Regions from separate parts of the Homo sapiens genome. Here region 1 is linked to region 2. The links are contacts of gene promoters, found by promoter capture Hi-C in blood cells and fetal thymus (Javierre and others, 2016). All regions are on one chromosome and are shown on one strand. The core of a region is centred on a gene start or on the middle of the fragment in contact, and the rest is flanking DNA. Distances in the headings are between cores, read along the strand shown.

The links. Contacts are between HindIII fragments. The CHiCAGO score rates a contact against its expected background, and 5 or more counts as called.
Region 1: a contact is called between a fragment that was not itself captured here and the fragment with the promoter of CHN1 in region 2, in 1 of 17 cell types (naive CD8 T cells). The highest score is 5.1, in naive CD8 T cells.

The regions. Positions count from the first base shown.
Region 1 is chr2:174,805,923-174,812,789 of GRCh38, forward strand. It overlaps CHN1 (chimerin 1), which reads right to left. Exons shown (of 13, transcript NM_001822.7): 9 at 6,387-6,560; 10 at 5,589-5,666; 11 at 2,983-3,120. Among named protein-coding and RNA genes, the nearest start is that of CHRNA1, 45 kb to the left of the region's middle. The HindIII fragment of the contact is 1,343 bases long and covers 1,447-2,789 here.
Region 2 is chr2:175,002,116-175,009,523 of GRCh38, forward strand. It overlaps CHN1 (chimerin 1), which reads right to left and starts at 3,266. Exons shown (of 13, transcript NM_001822.7): 1 at 2,779-3,266. The coding sequence starts at 2,797. RefSeq lists an enhancer at 2,436-2,982 and a silencer at 2,967-3,026. The HindIII fragment of the contact is 4,598 bases long and covers 141-4,738 here.

The DNA of each region.
Region 1 (6,867 bases), core at 868-3,367, 200 kb before region 2:
CATGTAGCTTTTTGAAGCTGCTCTGGGAACAGAGTTCTCAGAATCCTTGGCCAGAGGAAGATTTCTCCCCTCATTACCACAGGGAGCTCAACTTTGGCAGTGCTGTTTCCATCGTGACCAGGAAGCATCCATAATGTTGGGTTACTGGAGGCTCTGTGACAAGCACCTGTCCTTTTATTCTAGGGCAGCAATGTCTTAACTGCAGGGGGAGGGAGTAAGGAAGGTGGGGGTGAGTGAACACAGACTTCAGGTGGGTTCATCAGGGAGTTTCCAGGGGCTTTGGAAGAACTTCCAGCTGTAGCATGGGATGACCTGGCCTTCTCCACCCTTGCTTTCCTTTTTCATTTCTTGCAGTCACCCCCTTCCAGCTTTTAAGCTACAGGTTCCTCCAAGAAAGCTGCAAAAGCAGAGCTCAAACAGCTTTTGTAGAAGAAAGGTTTAATGTAAATTCTGATATTTTGTTGGCAAAGGATGCTAATAAATGCCAGAGACATTTTTAGGAGCTGAGAGAGAAAAAAAATTTTGGAGAATATATCCGCATTAGGAAGGATCATTTAACCCTGTCCCTCGTTTGAAAGGGGTTCTTCCTTCTTCCCTTGTGTAAGTCTCATTCCCTGTTCTATCAAGTGAGCCAGGCAGTGTGACAGAGTGGGTAAAGCAAGGGCTCTGACCTTAGAGGTGTGTGTGAATGCCATTGCCGCCGCCCCTAGTGAGCAATGTGATCTTACACAATTTACTGATACTCCATCACATCTCCTTTCTAAAATTACATCATGGATGTAAAGTGCTCGGCAGGATTCATGGCACCTCGTCTATGCTCTATAAATGTTAATTTCTCTCATCTTCCTTGTCTGCCTTTTAAGAGAATGGCCGTATCTGCACATCTAAAGAATGAAACAGACTCTACTGCCAGAAGAGAGTGTACAAGGACACAATATTCCACAAACAAGATATCGCTATTAAACATGTACAACAAACGTTTATATTATATATTGGTATTATGCCAGGGTTTTTGGTGTCATTCATAAATCAGACATCCAAATAACTGAAATTATAAGGAGAAATTTCTACCTTGATTTCCGAAAGTTTCTTTCTTATGATGTGGTTTCCAGAGTTCTCTGAGGGGTGAGATAAGGGGGCTTGCTAATTTTGGACAGGAAGGCTGTTTCAGAAACTCCATAACGATGACAAATGATTTGGAAGGATAATAAAAAGGAGAGATTTTCTTCAGCAGCTAAGGTGGGTGTGGGGAAGGAAGGAGAGGTCATTTGGAATTGTGGGGACAAAGGCCTCGAAGTCCAAGAGGAGGCTTGGCTTTTACTTCTTCCTAGATATGGCGGTGTGTGGAGTTCAGAACCTGGGTTTGCATCACTGCTTTGTCCTCTGCTGATTGTGTGCCCCAGAGTTAGGCATAGAGCCAAGCTTCAGTTTTACTTCCAGAGTGGAAGCTTACCCACTTTCAGTGGGATCGGAGTCCTCGGGATCAGAGCATACTGTGGACTAGGCAGCTTTTCACGGGCTATCTGTGTGTGTGTGTGTGTGTGTGTGTGTGTGTGTGTGTGTGTGTGTGTGTGTGTGTGTGTGTGTGTGTTGCTTTCTAGATGAGTGGCAATCAGACTTAACTGGAGAGGAAATGTCTGCCCCATGAGACAAGGACATGTGAGATCCCTCATACAAATTTTCATGATCAGCACTGCGTCCATAAGAGACCTAGAATTTTTCATGCTTTCTAACCTAATGCTTTGAAAGAAATCAGTGTAATTCTCACAGCTGTTCTCTACATGGGAGCTTGAGCTGACCCACAAGAAATCAGACCTCCATGGAACTAACCACAAAAATCCTCTACAAAAGCCCTGAGAGGGAAACTAAAATTTAGAACAAAGAAAGATTGTACTTCATGAAATTCCCAAGTCAAAAAGCAAATTAGTGTTACTAAGGAAGTGATGTTATCATCTAAAGATGAAGACAACATATGGTTTTAAAGAGAGAAAAGCAAAATGACAGAAATAGCCTATCTTTTCCAAAAAAACCAGTAATGCTAATACTTAAAACCAATAAGAATTCCCTTCTTTAAAAAATGAAGTGTGAATTACAAGTATGATTTTTACAGCATAAATGAACTTTGACAAATAAACCTTTGCTTTTTCTCATTTTCATTTCAACTAGAATTTACAAAAACTTCTTGATATAAAATAGTGCTTTTTAAAGTACAATGTGTGGGCCAGTGCCAGTTTGCTGTTAATAGTCTGAGTGAACTTATACAAGCACAGAAACTGAGAATAAGAATTTAGAAACATATAGTAATCTGATAGAAATTTTATGTTTGCTGAATTTAATAAAAGATAGTTGGTTTTTTGTTTGTTTTTGTTTTATTTCTTGAGACGTAGTTTTGCTCTTGTTGCCCAGGCTGGAATGCAATGGCACAATCTCAGCTCACTGCAACCTCTGCCTCCCGGGTTCAAGCAATTCTCCTGCCTCAGCCTCCTGAGTAGCTGGGACTACAGGCGCGTGCCACCACGCCCAGCTAATTTTTTGTATTTTTAGTAGAGATGGGGTTTCACCATGTTGGCCAGGCTGGTCTTGCACTCCTGACTTCAGGTGATCTGCCCACCTCAGCCTCCCAAAGTGCTGGGATTACAGGCGTGAGCCACTGCCAGCCTGGTTTTGTTTTTTTAATTTACTTTTCCAGTTATTCATTTTTATTTTATTTTACAAAAGCATTGGCTTACATCTAAAGAGCACTGGTATAAGCCTTATTTTGGAAAATGAGGTTTAGCACATTACAAAGAAGCTTCTGATGGTATTAAGTCATAAAATAATCTACGTTAGAGAACAATGCAAAATTCTTGTAAGTACATTAACCATAGAGAGAGGCAAAGGGGAAACATTTCATAAAATGCATTCAAGTTAGCCAGAAAACCAGGAAGGTGATTACCAAGAGGACGTTGTCAGGTTATTTGAAATACATGCATTCATACTTACTGGCAGATTCTATAAACTTAGGGTAGGCATCATATGTAATGAGTGGAATTGGCAAATCCCTGAAGTACAGTTTAAGTGCACCAGTGATAATGTTGATATCTTCATACATGTTCACAGAAATATCTGCCTTCTCACCATCTTTTAAGGATGTTGAAAGAAATAAAAGTAAATATCTGGATTCACAGCACTGTTTTAATGAATGACATATCTGTATACAAATCAGATTTTAAAGATTAGCAATTCTTCAGTTTTTAACGTAAAATTTAGTGTGCTACGTTACATATTAATGATTAATTTTCTGTGAAAGAGCCTCTTCTGATCTCCAGCATGCCTTACCTGCCCTACTAGACAGGTTAAACTCCCCAGTTATTAATATTTTCCTTTATAGCCCTTATTAAAATAAAATCAATAGCCACTGTGTGATTATTATTTAATGTGAGCCCTCCATGAGTGCAAGGACCAAGCGTACATGGTTAACCATCATATCTAAAGTGCTCGGCAGGATTCATGGCACCTCGTCTATGCTCTATAAATGTTCTAAAGAACATGGTGCCTGGCATATAGTAGCTGCTTAATATTTTTGAGTTAACCAATCAATGGAAAATAGATTTAAACAAGCTAGGGGCCTAAAAGAGTAACATGCCGGGGCTTACTATGTACGTTGTTATTAAACTGGTTCTTTTAAAACCTGCTTTTTAGTAAGTATACACAAATACACAAATATATTCTTCCATCTGTATTATCTATTTACTTATTTTCTGTTTTAAAATAATGTAAACAAATCCTGGAATCTGATATCCACATACTACATTCTAAGTAGGGCTATACCATATCAGCAAGACGTCTATAACATCTCTGTTTCCTGATTGTTTCTTTACTTTCTGCTCTTGCCTCCAGCAGACTAGGATTCTTCTGGGGTAAAGCTGATGAGATTTTATTTGTTTTGACCATGGATCTCTCACTGTACCTGTCACATAAATATCTGTGATTCCACCAAAGGACAAAATGTAGCAGAGGTATAATGGCAACTGCTGACCTCAGAATAGTCAGCTTTCCATTCAGTCACTATTTCCTAAGCTGGGGAAGATTTCCCCAAACTTGCCTTTTCACCTTGGCTCTTAAATGAGTTCATTCCAGCATCCTATGGATATTGTCTTCTTTCTTGGATCTCATTACTTGAGGTTTATGCCTCTCAGAAGTGATCATCCTTAATTACTCCAAATTATTTTGCTCTGTTTATTCAAAGGTATAGGATTATTCCTTTGAACATGCATGGAATTGGGCAGCATTTATATATAGAACTGATTTTAATGATCCGAGTCACTGGTTTCCTGTAATCCATGTTAAAATCCTTTGCATCATTACTATAGATCTTGCAGATGAGTGCTGGTACACATCCTTGGGAGGCCAAAGACTGGCCCCCAGCAGTGTGGCTACAGGGAGCCAAGGTGAGCTCTTCATGAATTTTAAAATCTGTTACTGGTGTTTTCAGGTCACAAAATGGTTGTCTCATATTTTCTATACAGGAAACTGTGTCATTTCTTTGCTCTCTGGGGTCCATAGGAACATTCAGTTTCTTTGTCAGTGTGAATTTATTTTTGAGACTCATAGCCAGAGGCTGGGAATGGACATGCTCAGTTGCAGAGCTTCCAGAGTAAAGAGATGCTTCTTCCCATTCAATCTGGCAGGGATTCAGGACTGCTCTTCCTGATGCTTATTTGGAGTGAATACACCATTAATTCACCTCCCTTTCTTTGCTCTTATCACATACATGGGCTGGCCTAGTTTCCCTCAGGTTGGTAATGAATATTTAATTACTTTTGCTTTCTGCCTCTGTTGCCTACAAGAGGTCTGTGAATGGGAGAGGTTTGTGTGATAGAACTAGAATACGTACTTGCAAAGGAAAGTGGTTCTTTAAAAGATCACTAACTCTTACTCCTTTACTTCCTGTATTCAAGGCTACAGGTCTTCTTTGGAACCACCTTGTTCTAGTCCTTGAAGCAAAGACAAATTGGAGAGCCATGGAAGCAAATCTTAATTTAAATGTTAGCTAAGAAAATTAAGCTCCACTGAGCTTTTCTTTGACTGGGCCCCTTCTCCTACAGTGGCTGATGGGTCCCCCACAGAAGGCCCCTAAAGCTTCTTTCAGCTTTCTGGCCCCAAAACTTGAGTCCGGGCTTGGGTCTCACTCAGCTAATCGAAGATGGTGATGAGGATGCCAGCGGGGCATGGATGACAGGCAGGGTAAGGTGGGTTAACTCAAGCCTGAGAAGCCTGAAATCTGTAATGGTATAGATCCTACTCTTTTCTCTATCATTTTTGGTGAATGTAATTGCTCTGTATGTATTTTGGTGAACATGGACCAGCCTTGGATACTCAAATATTGGTAACATAGTTTAATTTTATACTTCTTTCATATTCTGAAATTTGACTGTTTAATACTTACAACTCAGAAAAAAGAAGAAATTATAAGCTAAGTTTTTTAATTTGGTATAATAATCATCAATGATTTAGAAAAATAATGCAAAAAATACCTCACAAGAAATTGTGCCTTTTTAGAAAAGAGTATTATTGTCCTAAGTTATGGAACATTGTGAAAAACATACCTCTGTCGAAAGCCATCTTGACATCTTCAATTAGGTCACTAAATCCTGATACTCGGTATAGTCCTTCAGAATTAAGACCTGAAAAATAAAACTAGTTAGTTTCTTTGAATTATGCCTTTTCTTCAGATTTTAACTCCTCACACTTTAAGCTGGGAGGTAATGTGTCAGAAGAAATAAAATATACATGTTTAGAAATCTTTTCACACTCTTCTCCTAGAATAAAACGATTTCACACACAGTTCTTTAACTCTTACCTATTGTCACCTGAATATCATCTGGCTCATCATTTGGTCTAATTAAGTGAAATATGTTAAGTCTTAAGGGAAATAATTCATCACCCCAATTACATCATAAATTCTTTTACATAACAGAAGACTAAGATAAAATATAGGCCTGTTTTTCTCAAGTGGGAAAGAATAATTAGGATGCAGCTCTGTTTTTGGCTTTATAGATAGTTTTAGTAGAGCATTTATACTTTTGCTTTTTGAACCAAAGAAAAATTTAAAAACTGAAAAATGAATTTGTCTTTACCTGTCAACTTTTGCAGACTGGAAGCATCATCTATAAATATATTTTTATACAAGCACATTGGCTACACTTAGTTAAATGTACCTTGAAATCAAGCTATTTAATTGTTAAATTAATTCATTTCAGTCTTTGAGATCATTTGACATATGAAACCATTCCCCTCCAAATTACAGAAGACAACCGTATTGTGCAATGAGGTACCCAAAAGGCATCAGGATTGGTACTGGTAGTGAACGGAGACCACTGCAACCCGCACTGCAAATGGCTCACCTCTAGACTCAATCTCCCTGATGCACATGTCTACCACCATTGGCCGCTTAGTGGTATGTGCTTTCACGAGCGTCGTAAGGTCACAGCTGTACACCTTTTTGACATGCTTCAAGTCTGGCTTACAGTCATTTGGGACCATCTTGGAACACTGCTTATGAACATTCAAACCACAATCTAAGAAAAGAATAAAGAAAGGAAACATTCAATATTATTTTCAGAGTTTTGAGCATTCTGGAGTGTTAATTTTAGCAAAAGGCACTCCAGCTTGAATTAGGTTTTAAAGTGGACTAGACTCCAGCAGTTCTTTCTTGGTGGAAAAACAATAATTTTCATCTTTTCTCTTGGAACAATTTGATTATAAGCCAGGAGACCAGAATTCTAGCTCACGCTTCATCGTTTAATTGCTGTATGATCTCAGGAGAATACAACAAAAAAATCAAAATTAATGTTTTTAATTCAATGTCCACAAAATATGTCAAAT
Region 2 (7,408 bases), core at 2,016-4,515:
AAAAATGAGCAAGGTGAGCGAGCAGAGTCTGTAATACATTTGGATAATTTTTGAAATTGGGGGATTTAAAAACTATATCGAAGCTGATAATGAGATGTGAGTTCATTTGAAAGGAGAAGAAAAACGGGTGCAAATTCTTAAGCTTTCAAAAATGCACATTTTCAATTCCCAAATGAGACTGTAAAATCTTTCAAGATTGGGGTCTGGTTCTTCTATCCCAAAATAAAACTAATATGCATTAAAAATATGTTAAGCAGCAAAGGTGATTAACAGTGAGGATGAGAGATAAAACAGTCTTAACTATTCAGCTTAATTTAACAAGTATTCGAGTTCCTATAATATACTTAACAGGTGAAAAAAATTAAATGTATGCAAATACAAAATCAGGTAATGTTAGAGGCTCCACTTTTTAAAACTAAGTCACCAACTCCCTATAAAAAGAACATTTCTTAAATTTATAAAAAGCCTGAATGGAAAGAAAATGTAAAACACAAAGCAAATAACTAGTCTAGACTCTACTGCTGGACTGCACTAACTAATCAACCAAGATACAAAAGATAGGGCCCTGGCAGTCGTTACTCTGGGGAGCCTCAGGTATAAACTCTGCTGAGCTCTGACAAATCCTGTTGATCTGGTTAGGTCCCTGCCTCTAACTCTTTTCACTACCATCTCACAGAACTTTATTGCTCCATTGCTCTTCTGTTCTAAGTTGGTCATTAAGAGTAAATATGAAGGGACATGAGGCACTTCTGACTAAGACCAACTAGTTAAAGGTAGTAAAATCTAAAATAAAATCCATTTCTTCTAACCCTTAGGTACATCTCTCAACATACACAAAAAGCTATTTTGTATTGGGCGAGTTTGACCCAATCTCCTAGCATTTATCTTGAATACAACAGTTCTCAAACTTGAGTGAGCATAAGAATCACAAAGGGAGTCACTTTAAAATCCCCTTCCCCCATGTCTTTGGGCAAAAGAATCTACATTTTTAATAGACATCCCAGATGACTGATGAGTGGTGTACAACCACTTTTAAAAACAGCTGCTGCTCTATCACTACTTAACAAATAGCCTCTGCACTCAAGAGTGCTTTGTTTTATAACACAGAAACGTTCACACTGTAACAAACTGGATTTTGGGAAGTGAATTCTATTTTCCCATAAGTAGACTTTAAAATTTTAAAGATACATTATTCATTTTGAAGGCTGGGAGTGATTTCTTATACTTTCTTCTATAGGCCACATTCCATGCTTTTCCCTTCCTCATCTTCACCACAGTGGTTAAAGATTTAGAATTTAGAAATCCTTTTAAAAGAGCATTTTTCACCCCAATTTATCTTTTTTATTCGTCAGGAATGCGAGTATTTGAAAAGTTGACTTGTAAACCTTACTTCTGAAACCACACCTTGAAAATGCCAAATATCTCTTTAGGAAAGAAAATGTTTGTACCAAAAAGGTCCACATTTAAGGAAAATGCTGCTATTAAATAATGCTTAGATACAAGGTACTGAGAAACAGCGAGAATTTTATTATTTTTCAGAAAAAGAAGACACTTTTTTAAAGTACCTATGGAGGATCATCACCAAGTAAGAAATGGCACTTCTAGTAATGCACTTGGGCACAGTAAACACAGTCCCAGACTGAAGCCTGGTGAAGTGAATTCTAGGCTCAGTTTTGCCACAAAAGAGCCATGTGACTTTGGGAAACAACCTCTCTGGGTCTAAGTTTAATTTATAAAATAAGATAGTTAAATAAAAGTAACACTTTGATTCTAGCAGCTTAATTCACTGGGAAGTATTTACCTCAAAAAGCATTTGAGGTATGTAACACCTCTAACGTGTTTGATCAAATGACATAATTAAAACTGAACTGGAAACTTGATATTGTGAATAACTTACTTAGGCTGTTCTCGTAGCTATCAATTACATATCATTGTACTTTGCTTCTTCAAAAAAGCTGAATACTTTGAACGTCTAATGTTCACATATTGAGTTTTCTTAAAGTCAGGTACGTATGTACCATAGTCGTTTTGTAAAAGGAAAGAATGTATCTTTTCAGTCCTTTTTCCCAACCCATTGTCATTGCAGACTGAGAAAAAAACAGCTTGAAGTCTTAACCACCAAAAGCAACAGTGCTGCAGTAATTACACCACAAAAATAACATTTCATTCTTAATGAATACTCAGTCTCCTGAGATTACAGTTATCTTCTGGTAACCAACTTTATTCTGTCTGCTCTCATTCGTTAGTGCAAACATTTTCAATTTTAACCCATATTCAGTTCACAAATCATACTTATTTCCAACGGAATATACTGAGTCCAAAAAAAAAATTCCCCAATAGTCCAACAGGAAGCAACACATGCATTTGGCAATTCCAAGGAGGCTGGGGACTCACAGATACCTCGTTCAAAATAAATAAACTTTCCAAGGATTTATTTACCGACGGGAAAGGCAGGTTTGAAAACAACCAGTTAACTTCACTCCCAAGTTGGCATCTTAGAGAATCTTTGTGCGTTTGCAAAACACCCAGGACCTCTGAGCCTCCCAGCCGAGAATTGGCCAGGGGAGCACACGCCCATCGGCCCTGCCGGGAGAGGAAACAATGGGAGAGGCGCGAGGGAGCAAGCCGGCGCCCCGGGCGCCCCAACTCTGCGGCCCCGGCCCGCCCCGACCCCACGCGCCGCGCCCCCTCCCCGGGCGCCCAGGCCCCCCAGGCCCCCGCCCCCGAGCCCCGGGACGCGGCCCACCTGCGGCGGCGCGGGGAGACGGCTGCACTTACCAAACAGGGTCAGGGCCATTGTAAAGGCGCTCGCCGCCGCCCGCGAGTCCAGGCGCTCCTCCCAGGCGGGCTAGGGATCACCTCATCAGCCCGCCGCACCCACACCTCGGAGAGAGTGGGGTGCCCGATGGGGCGTGCTGGGGGCGCCGGCGCCCGGGGAGGCTGCAGGCCGGGACGCGGGGGACCGCTGCAAGAAAAAGTTATTCACGCGTTATTGTCGGGCGCACCGGGCCCAGGGAGCCCCGCTAGCTCTCCGCGAGCCGGCACTTGTCGCTGCCATCAGGCGCGGAGCGTGCGCGCGGGAGGAGGTACCTGCGAGGCAGGAGGCTTGGCCGCGGCGCAGTGGCTGGCGGAGAGGCGGCGCCGCACTGGCGGCGGCGGCGGCGGCGACGGGGAGAGCAGCAGCAGCCTCGCACAGCCCCCGGCGGGGCGCGCTCACTCCGCATCCCGCGGCCTCGCAGACGCCATCTTGCGATAGCGTCTCCCACGAGCTCGGCCGCGCCGCTGCCTCCCGCCTCTCCCTCGGGCTTCCCGGTCGAGTGCGTTCCCATGGCAACGGGCGCGCGCGGGGGTAAGAGGGTGCGCCCTCATTCCCGCGGCTGCGAGGAGCCACCAGCGCCCCCCTGGAGGCGGCCGCCCGGAGCGGGATGGAGCGGGGCCGGTGTGCGTTTTAGCTGAAAGCCCAGGTTTTTTCTTGAATGGAATTTGAGGAGGCGCAGAGAGGAGAAAAACGCTGTTACTCGAAAGAGGAAGAGTCACAGGAGGATGCTGAGTGAACGCAGCGCCCAGGCAGGGTCATCTGGGGACCTGGTGCGTGTGAGAACATATTTCTTCTCCTGGCGCCCTCCAGGCTCACTGTGGCTGGAGCCGGTGACCTGAAGCTGCAGGGCTCTGGTAGGAACAGAGGCACTGAAAGCTGCATTCCTCTCCGTTTGGACTTAGGAGCTGCTAGTAGTTCTGATGAAATTGACACACATTAGGAAAAGGAGTCGCTTAAAAAGCATCTGAGATTACCTAAGATAATTTGTTAAAAGACCAATGCTTACACCTGATTTTCTTCCCTTTACATTATACCTCTTTGATATTGTCTCAAGGAAAAAAAAATCAGCATGTGTCACTGACTGGCACTTATTTGCCACAAAAGATTGTTCCCCTGAGCTTCTTGTATTTATCTGATAATCACTGGCAACGTCCTCCTTTCTGTGATGTTGTCTCCTCACCTCTGTCTCTGCCATGAGGAGCCATACAACGCCTTGAGATTGTCAGCCAAAAGATGTTCTTGAAAAGCTGGGTTATATGTTTTTCGTCGTTGTCGTTTAATGTATTCAAAAAGTCATTCTTCTCTAGTTGCTATATGTGTTCCCTGTTTAAGAAATTCCTTCTTTTTTCTTGTTTCTCTGCTTAGGGATTTGATACTATTTTGGTATCTGATCATGTAGATCTTCTCTTTGGTTCTCCTTTCTTTCTACAGGCGTCTTTCCTCTTAGTTCCTCAGGTTCCCTAGTGTCTTCTCTCCCATTTTCAAATAATTCTTTAAGAATATTATAGAAATATCTTGTATTTAATGTATCTTAGAGATCGAATCCTGATAAAGTGGGAGATTACTACAGTACTTCCAATGGAACCACAGTTAATTCACCATCATTATTTCAAAGCAGACTTAAGCATCAGAAGAAAAGCAGGTTGGAAGGAGGAGCCAAGCCTTTTGTTTCAAGTCAGTTAACTCAGGAAGAAAGAAATATTAAAATGATTCAACATGAATGGGCAAGTGTTTAAGATGCTATATGTTTGGAATTTTGTGATGTAAAATGGCTCTCTTTAGCCACTAATCAAAATACATCTTTAAAATCCCCAGAATTTAAAATCTTTCATGAAAATGGACTCTTGATTTTGAACAACCTTTCTGCTCATAAAAAATTACAAACACACAGCTCATGAAAATAAATGAGAAACTCAAGAAAGCTTTGTGGGATAGATTTTATAACCATATAAAGATTGCTGCTAATCTGCTCTGCAGCCAAATAAATCAGAAACCGAAGACTCCATTTACTGTTTCAACTAGTGGTCTTCAACATTTTTGGACCAAATTTCCTTTTGAGGCTCTAATGAAAATACTGTCCCTCCTCTTAGAAAAGTGCTTGCATACATACACACATTCACCGGAAATTTTTCACATAATTTCAAGGGGATTATGGGCTATTCAGGGACCTTAGGTGAGCCCCTGGAAGTGTTTTTTGTAATCTCAGAAAGTTTTTGCCTTTATAATTTAAAGGAAAATATTTTCCTTCAGAATAGAACCATTGAATTTTGAATAGGAAAAGACCAAAACTCCCATGATTTATAGGTAAAAAAATTGAGTTCCCCGTAAAAAGATTTTCCCAAATGTGTTCACCTATTTAGTAGCAGAACCAATGGGAAAATCTTAGATTTCTGGTGTTCTCACCGACCACCTTCCCTACCCACATCCCGCATCAATTTAGAGGTTGCATGGTTTGAATTTCAAAAGAAAAATCTGTTTAGTATTAGAAGCAAAATAACGAGAGTATTTTGTCCTTAGCCATTCTGCATAGAGTTTGGGAAGTTGCATTTTGTCTCAAAGAGTTTTTATTAACATGCCCTTCTACTCAGAACTATGTGTCCCATCATGCTAAAAGAGAAACAATGCCTTTCTCTCCTCTTTGTTAAGCTCTGTTAGAGCATCAAGGTTTTGGTGCTGCAGCTCAGCTTGCTAGTAGCTCTCTCCATCCCTTGAGGGGTTGTCCTGGGAGTGAGACAGAGAGAAAGGAGCTGCCCTGCACTCAGATTTACCCTCCCATCATACAGCCGGCCTTTGGTTACTAGACCAGCTTTCCACTCACTAGTTTGGCCAAATACAACTGAATCCTAGTGAAATACCCTGCTTAAACTCAAGTGAAGATCCTTTTCCTCTCCCCTTTCTACTCGCACACCCACGTACACACACACACACACAGCTGTTTTTAAGGTACAATTTGGAACAAAACAGTGTGAATGTTGCTATGTTTCCCTTTAAAGCATCCTGCTTTCCACGAGCCATTCCTTTCAACTGACTTCCAAATGGTTTGATGCTCTAACAAAATGCTCTCTATACTTGATCAAAGTGCCTGTCTTGGAAATAGTATTGGCTTTTAAAATAGCGTATTTTTTTCAATGAGCTATTCCTATTCTATTGCATGTGCTTCTTTTCTCACTTAGCTGAAAATAAAGCCACAGCCTTTCAGCTACAGAGTCAATGCAAGGAAGGGCGTTAACTGCTTGGAGGTGATTATTACGGGTGGTGACTTAGATTGTTTATAAAAGAAGGGCAAAGAATGAATTGACTTCTCAAAATATTTATGTTTTCATTCAATGATTTCATTTTGTGCTTAACATGCAAGTGCTTAGAAGAGCCAGATTTGTTTATTCGTTACTAACTAGCTGTCAGATTTTTAGACAAATGTTTTACTGTTTCTAGTTCTTATCTTCCTCCTTTGTAAAATGAAAGGATGGTACTAAGGTATCTCTAATGTCCCTTTTAGGTTTATCTGTCATTGTGTGATATTTTAAAATCTTTAAATTAACTGGTTTATGGATAAAACAGAGGACATTTTTATTTGAATCTTCAATATATTTAAAGTGCTGTTATATCTAAAGTTCATAAATACCTAATGTAATAAAGAAGTCATATTTTGTCAAACCAGTGGTACTGCTATTTCTTCTGCAATGTGTTGTACTAATAATGTTATATTAATCATGTAGAAAGCAACCTTTTTCTGGTTTAACAGGATTAAAATTAAAAGTGTGCACTGAACAACCCATTTCAAATTTACTAAAACAATTTCTCATTTTTATTTAAGTTTTGTTGACTAAACAGAACCTAGACAACCCTTTAAAATGGTTTTCCTACATTTTAAACTAATGACTTATCACAAGTGTTTTGAATTTCTTTTTGTTACCCATTTAGCTTCATTCCCATTGGTAAACATTGATTTGTTCCTCAGTTTTCAATGAAGCAGAAATTAATGAGGCGGTTTCTGCCTCACAATAACAAGTTAAAATTATAGTACTTTGTCATGTCAACACAGCTTTAAACACTAGGAATACCAGTGCTATTAGCACAGTTCCCAAAATAGTGCAGAAGTTTGCTAGTGAAGAGAAAAATGTTACACAGTATACTTCTGCTAAAGTTAAAATTAAGAAAGTTAAAATTATTTAAATATTCACAATATGTGACATTCTCTCTATCCCATATTTATGTTACTAGTTACAGTGTTTGTTTCCACTGTGTGAATTTGTTTAAAGTGGATTTGTTTTTGTTTTGAGACAGGGTCTCACTCTGTCACCCAGGCTGGAATGCAGTGGCACAATCTCAGCTCCCTGCAGCCTTGAGTTCGTGGGCTCTAGCAATCCTCCTACCCCAGCCTCTGGAGTAGCTGGAACCACAGGTGCATGCCACCACACTCGGCTAATTTTTGTATTTTTAGTAGAGACAGGGTTTGCCATGTTGCCCAGGCTGGTCTGGAACTCCTGAGCTCAAGCAATCCACTCCTCTCAGCCTCCCCAAAGTGCTGTGATTGCAGGCATGAGCCACTGTATCCAGCTATTTGGTCTGTTTGGTTTTTTGTTTTTTTTT